2 separate regions of the Homo sapiens genome follow, and region 2 is linked to region 1. Evidence: promoter capture Hi-C in human tissues and cell types (Jung and others, 2019). All regions are on one chromosome and are shown on one strand. The core of a region is centred on a gene start or on the middle of the fragment in contact, and the rest is flanking DNA. Distances in the headings are between cores, read along the strand shown.

Region 1 (6,282 bases), core at 1,453-3,952:
AAAAAAATAAAAATAAATACACAAATAAAAATTAAAAATAAACTCTTACAGAATAGTTGCAAAGGTATACAGAGAATTCCCATATATTCTTCACCCAATTTCCCCTACTGTTAACATCTTAAATAACCATGGTACATTTATCAACAATAAGAAATTAACATTGATAAAATACTATTAGCTAAACTGCAGACTTTATTCTCATTCTTACAACAGTTTTTCAACTCATGGCCCTTTTCTGTTTCAGGATCCAATCCAGAATCCCATACTGCATTTAGTTGTCATCTTCTTAGTCTCTACAATCTGTGACAGTTCCTCAGTCTTTCCTTGTCTTTTATGATCTTGACATTTTTGAGGAGCACTGGTTATTTTGTAGAAGTAGAAAAACCCTCCATATGAATTTTTCTGATGTTTTCTCATGATTAGATTGAGGTTACAGGTTTGGGAAGCATACCACAGAGCTAATGTGCCCTTCTCCACATCAGGGGTTCCATCATAACAACATGGCTTATTACTGGTGATAAAAGAGGGGTTTTTTGTTTGTTTGTTTGTTTTTACCGATTCTCACTCTGTTGCCCAGGCTGAAGTGCGGTGGTGTGATCTTGGCTCACTGCAATCTCTGCCTCCTGGGTTCTAGTGATTCTCCTGCTTCACCCTCCCAAGTAGCTGGAGTTACATGCAGGCACCATCACGCCTGGCTAATTTTTGTTTGTTTGTTTTGAGACAGAGTTTCGCTCTGTAGCCCAGGCTGGAGTGCTGTGGTGCGATCTCAGCTCACCACAACCTCTGCCTCCTAGGTCCCGGTTCAAGAAATTCTCCTGCCTCAGCCTCCCGAGTAGCTGGGATTACAGGAACGCACCACCATGCCCAGCTAATTTTTGTATTTTTAGTAGAGACAGGGTTTCACCATGTTGGCCAGGCGGGTCTTGAACTGCTGACCTCAGGTGATCGCCCGCCTTGGCCTCCCAAAGTGCTGGGATTACAGGCGTGACTCACCACACCCGGCCTAATTTTTGTATTTTTAGTAGAGATGGAGTTTCACCATGTTGGCCAGGCTGGTCTCGAACTCCTGACCTCAAGTGATCCACCCACCTCGGCCTCCCAAAGTGCTGGGATTACAGGCGTGAGTCACCACGCCCGGCCCATCTTTGCTTAAATTATAAACTCAGTTTCTCCCACAGTTAGTTCAGCCTATGCTCAGGAATGTACAAGGACAGCTTGGAGGTTAAAAGTAAGATGGAGTTGGTTAAGTTAGATCTCTTTCACTGTCTCAGTCATCATTTTGCGAAGGCAAATTCACAAGTGGGAAGAAAGGACGGGTAGATGCAGGGCAGAGAGAGGGCTCTGTGCTTCGAGCCTGGATGATACAGATTTGGCAATACTATTCTAAGGAGAGACCAGAGAAAGAAGTTTAGGGTAGAAGGTAATTAATTAGAGTATGTTGAATTTGTCTTGCAGAAAAACCCTGTGAAGGAAACCTCTGGGAGGCTGTTGTAAATGCTGGGCTGGGGATGGGGTGGGTCTAGAGATCCAGATTTGAAGCAATTTCTAGTCTATTGATAGCTGAAGCTCAAGAAGAGAGTTAGATGAGCAGAGGTGAAGAGAGAAGAGGACATCAGACTCTTGAGTAAATTCAGCTTAAGCTCAGGGAGGAGTAAGAAAGGGAGACAGTGAAGGAAGCAGATAAGGAATATTGGGAAGCTGGACAAACAAGAACTGGGTAGTTGACAATACCAATGAAGAGGGAAGAGGAGAGGACTTTAATTCTTTCGGAGATGCCAGATGAGAAAAAATTAAGAAATGAGTGAGAAAAAAATGATGGAGTGATTAAACATCTATGTTGCTTTCCTTTGAGAATGTTAACTATGAAAAGAAGAAAAGGGTGGTGGTGGCTGCAAACCATAGGAAGGCTGAGAAAGGGTTTTACTTTGGTTCTGCCTCTAATCCCTGACGCATTCAACCTCCTCAAGCCATTTGCTTGTAAACATAACTGGCATAAATAATATCTGATATGCCCATTTTACAGGACAAGTGCTTCCCTCTCAGACCACATACTCGAGGACAGCGGCCGTCCACGCCTTATTTACATTCATCTTCCCAACACAACAGTCATTTGGAAGATGCCGAGTGGCGTGGGAAGAACAAGCGGGAACGAGCGCCGACCCGCCCGCGGCCTGACTGCTAGCGCACCGCTGTGCGGCCGCCTCACCGCGCACTCCCTCCTGAATTATTCACCACCGAGACGAGGACGGTGATCGCCCCCATTCCACAGAGGACACGGAGTGAAGGCGCAGTCACAGGCCCAAAGCCCCCAGTCGGCGGGTCTTGGAAATGGACGACTTTTTCACTCAAAAGCTACGAGGCAACAAAGCATGTGGATGAGGAGGGAAGGGAGCCGGGGCCAATAATTCATCTCAAAGTAAAAGACGTCCCCGGGGGTGGGGAACAAACAAACAACAAAACCCGGCTCTGTGCTTCCGCGCTTGCGCTCTCCTAGGTCTGCCAGGCTGCCGCCCGCGCCTAGGCCAGAGTCTCAGTGCGCCTGCGCCGAGCCCGACTTCCGCCAGGGCTCGATTGGCTTCCAGGCTACTTCTCCCGGCCCAGGGAGGGCCTGCGCTGTGGCTAGAGAAGGGAGTCTGGTGACTGGGTGCGCGTGCTGATGACGAAATCGGAAGTGCCCGGAGCAGAGGCGGGACCAGAACCTAGAGGGCCTCGGGATTGCGGAAGTTTGGTGGGGAGGGTCGGAGCTCTGGTGGAGAGAGTGTTGTCTAAAACAAGTTCCGGAAGGGAGGCTGCCCTTCGCGGTCCGAGAACCACCGGCCTCCCCAGTTTGAGGGCTGTTACCCCGTGCGCGCTTCGACGTTGCTGCTGTTGGCTCTCCTCGCCCCTCGTTCCCTTGGGAACCGCCTGGGAACTCCGCCATGTCATCCACTTCGCCCAACCTCCAGGTATCATTGCTCATCTCCCGTCCCCCTAGGGAGCTGGGATCGAGGGGAGGCGCGAGAAGCGGGTGGGGGGCGGGGAGAAGGGAGGAAGCGGCCGCGCCTGTGGTCGAGGCGCAGGAGGGCGGGTCCGGGGACCTGCAGCAGGTGGGAGAGGGGCCCGTTTTCCAACGGAAAGGTCGTTTCTGGCCCGCTCTTGGGGTCTCCCGAGCTACTGGCTTTGTGAGACTCTTCACTTTTGTTGACACTTCCCGCTTCCAAACCAGCCAAGATCTGGGCAGGTTTCTCCAATCAGGGTTAACGGAGAAAGAAAGAACGTAATTTTTGCAAAGCCCTATTCTGGACCAGTTGAAGATAGGGTGGTCATAGTTCGGTCTTAGTTTCTCAAGCTGACAGCAGACCCCTTCATTCTGAGCTGTCAGGTGAGTAGAGATATGGGAACAGACCAAGAATCTGAGATTACAGCCAGCCTGCATGCAATCTCCGTGAAGTCATTGAATTTATGTGCACACTCCTGTGGCTCCCAGATGGTAGTGTGTAAGATCGAGGAGTATTCTTAAACCTCTGTGTGGCTCCACTTCCCCTCCTCTACCGCAATGAGCACAGTGTTTTGTACACAAATCATGGAATCTTAAGATTTTAGGCTTAATCGTTAGTCCTCTGTGGAATGGAATTCGTTCAGAAAAGAAATTTCTTAATGTAATGGTGTCTCCCATCCCCAGAATGGATCTAGGGCTTCAGTGGCGTTTAGAATGTAATGTGGCTTAATGTAGAGGACTCCCAGTCCAGTAAGTCAATAAGGCACAAAAGAGTAGCCTAAAATACTTGTATTGAGTCCCCGTCGTGGACTTCCGGTAGTTTGTTGAACAAGCAGTTATTGGAGTGCCTGACAGAGGCATCAAAGGTAATGGAAGAACTCCTTAACCCATGATAATTGATTCTGAAGAAAGACCACTCAAAGTAGACCCACTTAAACAGAGATTAAAATTTCACACACACATACACAAAAAGAGTGGGAAAGGAGGCTTGCTTGGGACTTTCATCTTGAAAATCGACCTAGAAGATTATTAAAATAATTGTTATCTTTCACAAAATATTATAATTGTATAATTGCAACAATGACTCATTTTGTGGAATAAGTCAAGTGTTGATTTGTCTGTGTTTTTTTCCTTTTCTTTTCTTTCTTTTTTTTTTTTTTTTTGAGACGGAGTCTTGCACGGTCGCCCAGGCTTGAGTGCAGTGGCGTGATTTCAGCTCACTACAACCTCCACCTCCCAGGTTCAAGCGATTCTCTTGCCTCAGCCTCCTGAGTACCTGGGACTACAGGCACCCACCACCACGCCCAGCTAATTTTTGTATTTTTAGTAGTAGAGATGAGGTTTCACCATGTTGGCCCAGGCTGGCCTCTTGACCTCAGGTGATCCGCCTACCTCAGCCTCCCAAAGTGCTGGGATTACAGGCGTGAGTCACCGTGCCCGGATGACTATCTTTTTCACCAAGGTTGTATTAAACTAAGATTCAGCAATCTTCACTTGAGTTTTTTGTAGCTTTTTGTAGTCCTATTTGGAAAGGTTCTTTTTGGTAAACGTATTTGGAAAAAGCGTTGGTCATTTGGTAAAAGTATTTTTCCCTTGAGTATTAAAGGTGACTCTTCTGAAGTGCCCATCTTGTCATCGTTGGCTTTTTAACAATTTTTATTCCACCAGCTTTTCATTTGTCAGAGACTTTGCATGTGATTTCGATACTCTACAACATAATCTTCATCATTTGCAGGTTTTTGTTGTTGTTGTTTTGAGACAGTCTTGCTCTGTTGCCCAGACTGGAGTGCAGTGGCGTGATCTTGGCGCACTGCAACCTCCACCTCCCAGGTTCAAGTGATTCTTGTGCCTCAGCCTCCCGAGTAGCTGGGATTACAGGTGCCTGCCACCACGCCTGGCTAATTTTTTCTATTTTTAGTAGAGACAGGGTTTCACCATGTTGGCCACGCTGGTCTTGAACTCCTGACCTCAAGTGATCCGCCCGCCTTAGCCTCCCAAAGTGCTGGGTTACAGGTGTGAGCCACCGTGCCCGGCCCCAGAATGCATCATACTTGAATTGGACTGTTGGCTGTTCTTCAGTGAATCAGCCAGAGACTGACCAACATGAAAGGCATAATTGTTACTCTTAAGCAGGAAGGATCTTGAATTGTAATTTTGTTAGTGGTAGGTTCACATGTGTGCTTTCTCATTCAACCTTTTCAACCTTCTAACCTAGGAAATTTGGATTAATATTCATGTAGTGATTAACTTCCTGCTGAACAAGGCAAAAATCTCTGTGGCCAGATGCTTATAATCTAATGAGGGAATGCAGATAACTAAAAATCAAAATTATATAATGTAATAAAGCTGCACAGTATTCTCCACTTCCCTGTGGTTTTACTTTCCACAGTTTCAATAACCCGAAGTTAACCTGGGTCCAAAAATTTTAAATGAAATATTCTAGAATAAATAGTTCATAATTTTGAAACACTATGTCACAATGCCTGTGTCATTCACTTCAGTTCATATCATGACGTAGGCATTTTATTATTTCACATAATCACAAGAAGGTTGAGAACAGTGCAATAAGATGTTGAGAGAGAGAAACCACATTCACATCACTTTTATTACAGTATATTGTAATAAAATGTACTGGGCAAGGAGGCAAGGTCTGTGGGATGGGAGGCGGTAAGGGGCCAAATTAGTAGAGTATCCATTCAAATGAAGTGGAAAGGATTGATCAAAGGAGAAAAATTGAAGATGGAGAAGAGTCAAGCTTGTATCTGCATTTATTTTTTTTTTTTTGAGACAGAGTCTCACTCTATTGCCCAGGCAGGAGTGCAGTGGCATGATCTCGGCTTATGGTAACCTCCATCTCCCAGGTTCAAGCGATTCCCCTGCATCAGCCCCCCATGTAGCAGCTGGGATTACAGGCATGCACCAACACACCCAGCTAATTTTTGTAGAGACGGGGATTCGCTGTGTTGGCCAGGCCAGTCTCAAAGTCCTGAACTCAGGTGATCCACCCCCGTTGGCCTCCCAAAGTGGTAGAATTACAGGCGTGAGCCACTGCTCCCTGCTGTATCTGCATTTTAAAAGTGAGGGAGGAGGAAGAGTCTGAGTTTTCTCCCAGATTTCTGGGTTGGGTATCTGAGTACCCAACTCAGGTAGGGATTGGTTCTGGGAATACAAAAGGAGAGCTATTTGGGGCCAGGGCAAGGGAGCAAAATAATTTGGTTCTAAACTTGTCGAGTTTGAGATGCTTGTGGAGACAATCAAATGGAAATGTCCGGTGAATATTTGCATACATATGTGTAGAAGTAGGG
Region 2 (6,282 bases), core at 2,323-4,822, 1.0 Mb after region 1:
CCCTGAAAGATCATAGGATATTCCTGGCATAGGTTTGACATTACAGCACATGCTAGCCCAGCTAACTAATAGTTATTACACATCATCTTACACAGGAAGGTGCTAGCATGTTTTATGAATTTGAATGAATATTTGGAAATCTGACTGGTGTGGTAATGAAAAGATTTTGGCAGAAGCAATTGAGGAGCCCTTGACAATTACAGTTGAGAAATTATCCTGAGACAGCTGGAACATCAATTATGAAATAACCTTCCAGCTTGACATTTTAGATATCTCATATTTTCCAGCGTTCTAAAAGAGAAGACAGATGGCTCTAGCAGTTAAGCTTATTTCTCAGTATATTGAAATCCAAAATCAGGGCAAAAATGTGGTATGAACTAGACACAGGAGAGGGGCTACAGATGGGGTTGCTGGTCCAGCTCTGCAGTAAAGGCAGTCTTCATTGCCAAAGTCTCCTGTCTTTTACAAGGTATGAGATAATAGGAAGGCAAAGATGTTGGATGCATTTCATGCATGCATTTACTCATTCAATTATTATACATTCAGTTGATTATGGTTTGTGGGAGGATAGGATTTTCCATCCTTCTTACAGCCTTCTTGTCTTTTCCTCGTATCCCAGTGAGGAGAGGGTCTTAGAAAGACAGCCAAGCTAGGAAGATCACTTAAATGATAATACATATTAATGGTTAATATCAGCAAGAAGGACTTGTCTTGTTCACATCCTGCCCAAAGGAGCCTGAAAATCTTATGACTTGTGCTAAGCAGGGGAACAGGGAGGAACCTTGCTTTGGCTTCCTGGATAGTGCAGGAGGAATGCTCCCCATGACTCTGTGGGCTGCCACCAGGATGGAGCCAGGATCCTGAGGAAGGGCTGAGGATGGGAGGAAAAAAGAGAGAGGGCAGAGAAAGCAGAGACCCTCACAGGGAGGAGGGCTCTGTATGTAAGTAAGGACATGTCTGGCCCCATCTTCTGGAAGCCATGTGTGTTTCTGATTGCCTAGGAATAAGATTGTTTTCTTTCTGGCAATGGACTAGCCAGCCAATCGTCAGACCCTAGAAGAGGGAGGTGGAGGCTGGTCAAGGACTTATTCATCCGCAGGCCCCAGAGGCCCTTTGTGGGGAGCCTTAGAAACTTCACAATGGGGTCATCTCCAGAAGCTGCTTCTAAGGACTGGGAAGGGAAGGCTCATGAGTGAGCAAATGTACAAGGACAGCTGGAACTTAAGGGAAACGAATGACAGAAAGAAGCAAGCATTTACTTAGGGCTGTGCCAGGCACCTGCAGATAGCACTAGACTCGCTTGAGAAGTTTCCATGAACAGATATTTATAGCTGGGTTTTAAAACATCATAGTAAATTTGTTTGCTATGGTGGGCAGAATAATGACCCCCCAAAACTGTCCATGTCCTGATCCCTGGCACCTGTGAATATATCGGCTCACTTGGAAAAAAGAACTTTGCAGATGTGATTAAGAATCTAGAGATGGGAGGCCAGGCGTGGTGGCTCACGCCTCTAATCCCAGCACTTTAGGAGGCCAAGGTGGGTGGATCATCTGAGGTCAGGAGTTCGAGACCAGCCTGGCCAACATGGTGAAACCCCATCTCTACTAAAAATCAATAAAGTTAGCCAGGCTTGGTGGCAGGAGCCTGTAATCCCAGCTACTCGGGAGGCTGAGGCAGGAGAATTGCTTGAACCCAGGAGGTGGAGGTTGCAGTGAGCCAAGATTGCGCCATTGCACTCCAGCCTGGGCGACAAGAGTGAGACTCCATCTAAAAAAAATAATAATAATCTAGAGATGGGAGACTATCCTGGATTATCCAAGCCCTGCAAGTAAGCGAGAAGCAGGAGAGGCAGACTCAGAGCATGAGGTAATAGAAGCGGATGTTGGAGTGATGAGATTGCTGGTTTCAAAAACAGAGGAAGAGGCCTGGAGCCAAGGAACCCAGGCAGCCTCTAGAAGCTGCAAATGGGAAAGACAGATTCTCCCTGAGCCTCCAGAAGGAGTGTGGCCCTCCTGACTTCTTGATCTTTGCCCAGTGTATTAGTCCATTCTGACACTGCTAATAAAGACATACCTGAGACTGGGTAATTTATAAAGGAAAGAGGTTTAATTGACTCATACTTCCACATGGCTGGGGAGGCCTCACAATCATGTCAGAAGGCAAAGGAGGAACAAAGGCACGTCTTACATGGTGGCAGGCAAGAGAGCTTGTGCAGGGGAATTCCCATTTATAAAACCATCAGCTCTTGTGAGACTTATTCACTATCACAAGAATAGCCTGGGAAAGACCTGCCCCCATGATTCAATTACCTCCCACTTGTTCCCTCCCATGACACGTGGGAATTATGGGAGCTACAATTCAAGATGAGATTTGGGTGGGGACACAGCCAAACCATATCACCCTGTGAGTTTCAGACTTTTGACCTCCAGAACTACAAGATCATAAATTTGTGTTGTTTTAAGCCATGAAGTTTGTGGTCATTTGTTACGGCAGCAGTAGGAAACTGATAGACAGCAGTCCATCTATATCTGTGGGTTGTGGGTTCTGGGTTCTGCATCTGTGGATTCAACCAACCAGGAATCAAAAATACTTGGAAGAAACCGAATGGATGGTTGTGTCTGTGTTGAACATGTACAGAATTTATTTGTTATTATTCCCTAAATGATACAGTATGACAACTACGTATGTAGCATTTGGATTGTACTGGGTATGCTAAGCAATCTAGAGATAATTTAAAGCATAGGGGAGGATGTGTGTAGGTTATATGCAAATACTACATCATTTTCTGTAAGGGACTCGAGCATCCATGGAGTTTGGTGTCCTGGAACCAATCCCTCATGGATACCAAGGGACAATTGTACTTGTCTAACTGGATGATTGCCTAGTGTTTTTATGAGAAAACTAAAGAGGATGGACTCTTTCCATACCCCTTAGAAATACAAAATATCTTGGGAAGGCACAATAAAGCATGAGTAACATAGAAATTATGGAATATAGATTTTCCCCAAATAAGTGGAATTCTTACCTACCAATGTCCTACATTTTGCAGCCTGACAGTATGGAGGGAGAGCCCTGTCCTGCCCATGCACAGCCTGAAGGCACACCCCATGTGGATAGAACACCACGTTGCACATCCTCCCTGCAGAGCGCCTCAGGCCCACACTGCTCCCTACCCATGCTCAGTCCCACTTTGCCCAGCCGCAGTGTTGGACTCATTTTCCTCTGCTGGGTGAGTCTCGATGAGCCCTGCCTCCACTTGGGCAATTGTTTATAGAAGGTCAGCAGATCTCCTCTTCACGAAAAATGGGTCCACAGACTTTCTACTAGTGCAGGTGACCGAGGCCCCCCAGCCAAGGACGGGTTTTTCAAGCATTGGTGACAGACCTGTGTGACCCCAAGCTTTATGGGCCAGTGCTGCATCTTTCCAGTCTCAGTAGGTTTCCAGGAGCCCCGATGACTAAGACTTCAAATGTTCCTGAGGGACAGGATATCGTGATTGAGAAACCAACCATGTCTTACCTCCTGCCGTGAAGTCATTGATGAAAGAAATGAAGGTATTTTCCTTTCTGCACTCTAAGAAGGCAGCCCAGTCTTTGGGTCCTAGAGGGCTGGGTTTTCTCATCTTATCAACACTTCGATCTGTTAAAAAAAAAAAAAGTCTAGGCCCAAGAGCTCAGTTGTCCAGGGAGTAAAGGAGCTGTGTTAGTTTCCTGGTGCCATTATAACTAATCATCACAAACATGGTGCTTGACACAACACAACTCTATCATCTTCCAGTTCTGGAGGCTGGAAGTTTGAAGTGGCAGGGCTGGTTCCTGCTGGAAGCTCTAGGGTAAAATCCATTTCCTCACCTTTTCTAACTTCCAGAAGGCTCCAACCTTCTTTTGCCTGTGGCTCCTTCCTCCATCCTCAAAGTGCATCCTCCATTCTCTGCTTCCTTCATCACACGGCCTTCTCCTCTTCCGAAGTCAAATCTCTCTCTGCCTCCCTCTTCTGAGGATACGTGTGATTATATTTAGGATGCACCTGGATAATCCAGTATAATCTCCCCATTTTAAGAGTATTAATTTAATTGCATCTGCAAAGTCCCTTTTGCCATAGAAGTTACACTCCCAGGTTTCAGGGCCAAGGACATGGGCATTTCAGGAGACCATGACTGAGCAGGGGCCTGGGGCTTTAGGAAGTGAGCAGTGGTGTGGCCTCAAAGAGAGCAGTTAGACTTCCCAAGCCCAAGTGGGGTGGATTTCTCCTTCCATCCCCTTCCATTGCAGCACCCTGTCAATAACAGGATTCTCATGGGACACCCAGAGACCAAGCCCTAAGCTATGAGGCTAATGGTCTTTGCATCCAAGCTTTGCTCAGAAAGGACGTGGCAGTCCACCTTCGAAGGGACCACATGACCTGAGACAATGCATGAGGATTCATACATCATCCAGGATGGACTGAATGCCAAAAAGACCTTTCCCCAAAATTTCTGGACAGACTCTTACAGTACTTGAGGGAAGCAGAGTGGCACCCCAAAACCCGACGAAGTGAATTCACACTACCTTTGTCAAGCAGAGTCTCAGAACTATGTTTGATTTGCTTTAGAAAAAGTATAGTAATAGAACATATTTCCTGAATGCTGTCAGGTAAATTCATACATGTCTGGAGATGGGGCATGATTGGCTTCTTAAGCAAATATAGTCACATGCCACAAAACAACGTGCGGGTCAACAATAGACTGTAGATACAACCATGGCCCATGAGGTTATAATGAAGCTGGAAAAGTCCTATCACCTAGTGACGTCATAGTTGTCATAATGTCGTCTCGGTGCAAGGCATTCCTCTCGTGTTTGTGGTGATGCGGCTCTGCCAGTGGTTTAAAAAGTAAAAATAAAAGAAAAAAAAGAAATTTTAAGGCTGGGCGCTGTGACTCATGCTTGTAATCCCAGCACTTTGGGAGGCCGAGGCGGGCAGATCACCTGAGGTTGGGAGTTTGAGACCAGCCTGACCAACATGGAGAAACCCCTTCCCTACTAAAAATACAAAATTAGCCAGGCATGGTGGCGCATGCCTGTAATCCCAGCTACTCAGGAGGCTGAGGCAGGAGAATCATTTGAACCTAGGAGGCAGAGGTTGCAGTGAGCTGAGATCGCACCATTGCACTCCAGCCTGGACAACGAGAGCGAAACTCTGTCTCAAAAAAAGAAAAAAAAAAAAAAGAAAAGTTTAAAAGGAAAAAAGCTTATAGAACAATAACATGAAGAAAGTATTTTTTCACAGTTGTACAGTGTGTTTGTGTTTTAAGCTAGGTGTTATTACAAGAGTCAAAATGTTAAAAAATTTCAAAGCTTATTAAGTAAAAAAATTACAGTAAACAAAGATGAATTGATCATTGAAGAAAGGAAAATATTTTGGAAGAGTTGGTGCAGTGTAAGTAAGTGTAGCTTGTTTCTAAAGTCTACAGCAGCGTAGAGTGACGTCCCAGGCCTCCACATTCACTCCTCACTCACTGGCCCATCCAGAGCAACTTCCAGTCCTGCCAGCTCCAAGACAGATGGGTCATTTTCTGTCTTTCATACTGTATTTCGACTGTGTCTATTCTATTCTTAGATACAAAAATGCTTCCCATCATGTCACAGTGGCCTACAGTATTCAGCAGAGCAGCATGCTGTACACGTTTGTAGCCTAGGAGCAATGCGGTGTACCATCGAACCTAGGTGTCTGGTAGGCTGCACCACCTAGGATTGTGTGAGAACACTCTATGATGTTCTCACCACGATGAAATCGCCTAACGCGGCATCTCTCAGAACCAGCCCCGTGGTTAAGCCACACAGGACTGTGTCAGGGTGTCAGCATTCACATCACGTCCTGATATATCTCCTCCAAGAAGCCTGCTTTATAGAAAATGAATTTTCTTATCACAAGGCTTTAGGTTCCTTTCTTTTCTGGTTAATGGGGGGAAAATCCAGGCAGACAAGCCTCAGGTGATGTGGCCACTTTCATCTCAGTCAATATCAATTGGGTCCTATCAGAGCTCCCAGGCTCCTGGAATGGGAATTCTCTGTCCTTCCCCCAGTTTTAATTTCCTTCCTCAGAAAAAGGGACACAGTCTGCATTAGTGTGCAGGATGTGAGGACTGCACGGGTATCTGGCTTTCACACCTGGCCAGTTCTGAGCTCTACAGGCTGCATTCACCAGGCAAGGATGGGGAGAGAGCTGGAGGTGCAGTGGTGGTGTGGGCAAGGGTGGTGCCAGTGTCCTGCCAGGGAGGACCTTGGGATAGTGGGTGCTGATCA

What was found. The method cuts DNA at HindIII sites, captures the fragments that hold promoters and counts their contacts. A contact is called where the count stands out against the background at its distance.
Region 2: a fragment that was not itself captured here is called in contact with the fragment with the promoter of VPS4B in region 1 in 1 of the 25 tissues and cell types used here (dorsolateral prefrontal cortex).

What each region holds. Positions count from the first base shown.
Region 1 is chr18:63,418,896-63,425,177 of GRCh38, reverse strand. It overlaps VPS4B (vacuolar protein sorting 4 homolog B), which reads left to right and starts at 2,702. Exons shown (of 11, transcript NM_004869.4): 1 at 2,702-2,945. The coding sequence starts at 2,919. RefSeq lists an enhancer at 2,535-2,834. The HindIII fragment of the contact is 11,812 bases long and covers 1-6,282 here.
Region 2 is chr18:62,407,291-62,413,572 of GRCh38, reverse strand. No RefSeq gene overlaps it. Among named protein-coding and RNA genes, the nearest start is that of TNFRSF11A, 85 kb to the right of the region's middle. The HindIII fragment of the contact is 3,418 bases long and covers 1,864-5,281 here.